Linked DNA regions of Homo sapiens: region 1 is linked to region 2. The links are contacts of gene promoters, found by promoter capture Hi-C in blood cells and fetal thymus (Javierre and others, 2016). All regions are on one chromosome and are shown on one strand. Each heading gives the region's core, a stretch centred on a gene start or on the middle of the fragment in contact. The rest is flanking DNA. Distances are from core to core; before and after follow the strand shown.

The links. The method cuts DNA at HindIII sites, captures the fragments that hold promoters and counts their contacts. A CHiCAGO score of 5 or more calls a contact.
Region 1: a fragment that was not itself captured here is called in contact with the fragment with the promoter of HIP1R in region 2 in 9 of 17 cell types (naive CD4 T cells, total CD8 T cells, naive B cells and 6 more); the score reaches 7.7 in naive CD4 T cells.

Annotation. Positions count from the first base shown.
Region 1 is chr12:122,969,260-122,971,983 of GRCh38, forward strand. It overlaps a transcript of ABCB9 not described here. Among named protein-coding and RNA genes, the nearest start is that of ABCB9, 4.2 kb to the left of the region's middle. The HindIII fragment of the contact is 178 bases long and covers 1,293-1,470 here.
Region 2 is chr12:122,834,163-122,836,862 of GRCh38, forward strand. HIP1R (huntingtin interacting protein 1 related) reads left to right here and starts at 1,295. Exons shown (of 32, transcript NM_003959.3): 1 at 1,295-1,481. The coding sequence starts at 1,389. LOC124903040 (a long non-coding RNA gene) reads right to left here and starts at 1,071. Exons shown (of 2, transcript XR_007063501.1): 1 at 1,012-1,071; 2 at 393-676. RefSeq lists an enhancer at 897-946 and silencers at 1,197-1,436, 1,607-1,806. The HindIII fragment of the contact is 2,457 bases long and covers 1-2,086 here.

The DNA.
Region 1 (2,724 bases), core at 132-2,631, 140 kb after region 2:
CTCTGGTAAACTTGGACTAAGAACCATTGTGTGAGTGACTGCTAATGGATACGGTGTCTTTTTGGGTGAGGAATGTTCTAAAAGTTGATTGTAGTGATGGTTGCACAACTCTGTGAATATACTAAAAACTCTTGAATTGTAAACTTTAATTTGGTGAATTGTATGGTATGTACAGTGTATCTCAATAAAGCTATTATTACAAAAGGAAGTCCAGGCAATGTGGCTTATGCCTGTAATCCCAGCACTTTGGGAGGCCAAGGTGGCAGGATCACTTGAACCCAGCCCGGGCAACACAGTGGGACCCAGTTGCTACAAACAATTTAAAAAATTAGCTGGGTGTGGTGGCACATGCCTGTAGTCCCAGCTACTCAGGAGGCTGAGGTGGGAGGATTGCTTGAACCTGGGATGTTGAGGCTGCAATGAGCTGTGTCCATACCACTGAACTCCAGCCTGGGCGACAGAGACCCTGTCTCAAAAAAAAAAAAAAAGAGAAAGAAAAAACACTCCATGCCATATGCCATAAAGGAAATGCAAATTAAAACAGCAATGTGATATCAATACACACACACTAGAATAGCTGAGATCTGGAACACTGACAACACCAAATGCTGTCAGCGATGAGGAACAACAGGGACTCTCATTCATTGCTGCTGGGAATGCAAAACAGTCCAGCTAGGGAGGAAGGCAGTTCGGCAGGTTTTTTTATAAAACTAACTATGCTCTTACTACATGATCAGGCAATCACACTCTGTGATATTTACCCAGAGGAAGTAAAAATTTACGTCTACAGAAACACCTGTCCACAGATGTTTATAGAAGCTTTATCATTATTACTTTCGAGATGGAGTCTCACTCTGTCTCCCAGGCTGGAGTGCAATGGCATGAACTCAGCTCACTGCAACCTCCGCCTCCCGGGGTCAAGTGATTCTCCTGCCTCAGCCTCCCGATCAGCTGGGATTACAGAAGCCTGCCACCATGCCCGGCTAATTTATTTATTTATTTATTTGAGATGAACTCTTGCTCTGTCACCCAGGCTGCAGGGCAGTGGTGTGATCTCGGCTCACTGCAACCCCCACCTCCTAGGCTCCAGTGACTCTCCTGCCTCAGCCTCCCAAGTAGCTGGGATTACAGGCGCATGCCACCACGCCTGGCTAATTTTTGTATTTTTGGTAGAGATGAAGTTTCACCATATTGGCCAGGCTGGTCTAGAACTCCTGACCTCAGGTGATCCACCTGCCTCGGCCTCCCAAAGTGCTGGGATTACAGGTGTGAGCCACCACACCCAGCCTGGAAGCTTTATTCTATTGAATGTTTCCAACACGAAGAAATGATAGATGTTTGAGATGATATATATGCTCATGACCCTGATCTGATCACTATGCATTATATGTATTGAAACATCACTACATACCCCATGAGCATGTAAAATGATTTATCGACTAAAACATAAACAAAAATAAAATAAAATAAAGCTTTATTCGTAATTGCCTAAACTTGGAAGCAACTATGATGTCGTTCAGCAGGTGAATGGATGCACTGTGGTACACCCAGACAACAGAATATTATTCAGTGCTAAAATGAAATGAGCTATCAAGCCATGAAAAGGCACGGAGGAACCTTCAATGCACATTCCTAAGAGAAGGAAGCAATCTGAAAAAGCTCCCTACTGTATGATTCCTACCATATGACATTCTGGAAAAGGCAAAACGGTGGAGACAGTACAAAGATCAGTGTTTGCCAAGGGTTAGTGAGAAGGAAGGGGTGAGTAGGCAGGGCACAGAGGATTTTTAGGGCAGTGAAACTACTCCATATGATACTGTAATGGTAGATGCATGCCACATACATTTGTCAAAAACTATAGGCCTGTAATCCCAGCACTTTGGGAGGCCAAGGCGGGTGGATCACCTGAGGTCAGGAGTTCGAGACCAGCCTGGCCAATATGGTGAAACCCTGTCTCTACCAAAAATATAAAAAAAAATTAGCCAAGTGTGGTGGCACACCCCTGTAATCCCAGCTACTCAGGAGGCTGAGGCAGGAAAATCGCTTGAACCCAGGAGGTGGAAGATGCAGTGAGCTGAGATCATGCCACTGCAGTCCAGCCTGGGCGACAGAGTGAGACTCCATCTCAAAAAAAAAAAAAAAAAAAATCAAAAACAAACAAAAACAACAAAAAAACTATAGAATATGTTTATTTAATTTTTAATGATTTTTTTGAGACAGGGTCTCATTCTGTCACCCAGGCTGGGGTTCAGCAGCATGACCTCTGCCCATGCAACCTCTGCTTCCCAGGTTCAAGTGATTCTCCCACCTCAGCCTCCTGAGTAGCTGGGATCATAGGTGTGCCACCACAACCAGCTAATTTTCGTATTTTTCATAGAGACGGGATTTTGCCATGTTGACCAGGCTGGTCTCGAACTCCTGAGTTCAAGCGATCTGCCCACCTCGACCTCCCAAAGTGCTGGGATTACAGGTGTGAGCCACTGCGCCCAGCCAAAAACTATAGAATATATGAATCCTAATGTAAACTGCCAGCTTTGGATGATAATGAGGTGTCAGTGTGGGTTCACTGACCATAACAAATGTACTGGCTCGTGTGGGATGGTGATGGTGGGGGAGGCTGTGTGTGCTGTGGCTATACTTGCTACTCAATTTTGCTGTGAGCCTAAAACTGATCTTAAAAAAAAGGAAATCTATTAAAAGTGGTTAAAATGGTAAATTTCGTTA
Region 2 (2,700 bases), core at 45-2,544:
TGAGGTGAGATTGTGCCATTGCACTCCAGCCTAGGCAACAAGAGTGAAGCTCGGTTAAAAAAAAAGAAAAGAAAGAAAGAGAAGAAAAGAAAAGAAAGAAAGAAAGAGAAAGAAAGAAGAGAGAGAAAGAGAGAAAAGAAAGAAAAGAAGGAGGAAGGAAAGGAAAGGGAAAGGGAAAGGAAAGGAAAGGAAAGGAAAGGAAAGGGTCTCTGACCTCAGACAGGTTACAGTCTCACTAGGGAGACAAGGGTCAGGATTACGTGGGCGTCATTTTCCTCCTTACAGGCAGGCGGTGCCTCTCCCTTCAAAAGCAAGGGACCTTTATGCATGATTCCACATCTGCATTCCGATAGGAAAGGGAAACAGCAGAAACACAATACCCATCTGAGAGCTACGCTTAGAGAGGACTCTGGGCTTTTATTTATTTTTTTACTTCAGTCTTGTGACCAGTAATTTTAAGGGAAAGCCAATAATAATGTTTTTAAAAAGCCTCACGCCACCCCTGGCGGCATCTCCTCGGTGTACTTTGCTGTTCAGATCCGCCTGCCTTCTGTGCCAGCCTAACAGCGCCCGGCCTCAGCCCCCATTGTCCCTGGAGCTGGCGAGGTGTCCGGTTGCGGAGCCGGCGGCGTCTCTGGAAATGCATCCTGCATCCCCGCATGGATAACAGCTGCAGCTATGTCAGAATTGCACAAAGAGGGGAGAGTGTCATTGTGTGCCTTTTGACACATACATTAAGACCAAAAAGGAAAAAAAGCGTCTATCTGTGCTGCCACCGACCAGACTCATGGAGGCCAGATTTTCTCCAATTAACCAGATCTTGCCCTGGTGCAGACAAGACTTAGTGAGTTCGGAGGAGGGGTGGGGAGAGGGAATTGGCTGGGGTCCCTACCCTGGGTGGAAGGAGGAGGGAGGGGTTCCCCCTCCCCCTTCCCCTACCCTCCCCTCCGGGTTTAGGGAGGGGATTAGAGGTGGGGAGGAGCTGGGGGGGCGTTTGGCCTGTGCCCCAACCTTGTGAGTGAGGTGGGGGTTGGAGGTGTGCGGGGGGCGGGGCGTGTGCCGGGGTCGCCGCGGGATGGGGGGTTGGGGATGTGCGGGGAGAGGCGCGTGTCCCGAGATCGCGGGGGGTGGGGTTGGAGGTGTGCGGGTGGAGGGGCGCGCCCTGGAGTTGGGGGCGGGCGAGGCGTTTGCGGGCGCGGGGGGCGGGTTTGGAGGTGTGCGGGGGAGGGGCGTGCCCTGGAGTTGGGGGCGGGGCGAGGCGGGCTCCTCCCCGGCGGGCGGGCCCGGGCGCGGCGCGGTGGCCTCGCGGTGCCTAGGCTGGGGCTGCCGGACCGTGAGGCTGTGAGTCGCGCGGACGGAGCCGGACAAAAGCGGGCGGCGGCGGCAGGATGAACAGCATCAAGAACGTGCCGGCGCGGGTGCTGAGCCGCAGGCCGGGCCACAGCCTGGAGGCCGAGCGCGAGCAGTTCGACAAGACCCAGGCGAGCGGGCGGCGGGCGGCGGGCGGCGGGCGGCGGCGGGCGGGCGGGCAAGCGGCGTCCCTGACCCCTCACGCGCGAACGGCTGGGGCCCGGGAGGCGCCGGCCAGGGGCGGGGGACGGCGCGGGGGCAGGGCCTGTGTCCGCCCGGGCTCTCCGAGAGCTCCGCTGCCGCCCCCCGCCGGCCTCCGCGGCCCGAGCCGACCGGCGCGCAGGTGAACCGGAAGCCGCGCTCCCCGCTCCCGCCGGGCGCTCGGGCCCAGAGGCGCCGGGGCTGAGGGGGCCGGGGTCAGGGTGTGCGCGGGCCGGGAGCGCCGGAGCTGAGGCGGCGGGGGACGGAGATGGGGCCGGGGTTGGGTGTGCGCGAGCCCAGCGCGCCGGGGGTCGAGGGGGCTGGGGATCCAGGTGCTCCCGGGGCCGGCGCGGCCCGACTGGGGTCCCCGACCTTCCGTGCCGCTCCTTGCCGGCTCCTGCCCCCGTCTCCTACCCCCTGAAACCGATGCCCCCACGGGCAATTTCCTTAAAGGAAATTCCTTAAACTCCCAGCTTCCTTCTCTCGTGAGCGGTTTCCCAGGGCTGCACAGTCTCCTATTATTTGCTGGGTGAAAAGCTTCTCGTATGTCGCCAGACTTGTTTGCCCGAGCGCTGCCCACGTATAAATAGGTGCACACCCCCTCATTAAATACCGGCGCCCGACAGACAGAAACTTCCTGGGGCTCCCTTCCTGCGCCTCCCACGCTTGTAACTCTTCCAGATGATGCCTATCCTGGGAAGGCGTTAGAAATGAAATAAGGGCGCGGGTGTGCGTTTTGTACTTGTGTTTGTGCCGGGGACCCACGATGCAGACGTTGCTGCGTTTCTGGTTTCCTGTTGCTTTTTATTTTACAAACTCTTGAAGTGCTCTCAGGCTTGGGGGATGGGCGGTGGAGGGGGGCATACTTGTTTATTTGCCAAAATAAGTCAACCAAGACTGAAATGGCTGAAAAATTTTACTCTAGAGATAAAGGAAGCCAGAGGACCCCTCCCACTCCTGTCTAAAGCAGGTTGGTGACATTTGCGTTTGTGGCGGCTATTTGCAAGTTCCGTCCCACTTGTCCTTGCAGAGAGCTATGACTTCTGCGGTTGCCTTCACATCTAGTTAGCACACGCACTCTACAACAGCTTTCGTTTTGAAATGAGAGAGAACGCAGGGAGACCTTCTAACCTTTGTGCTTGGGATTGA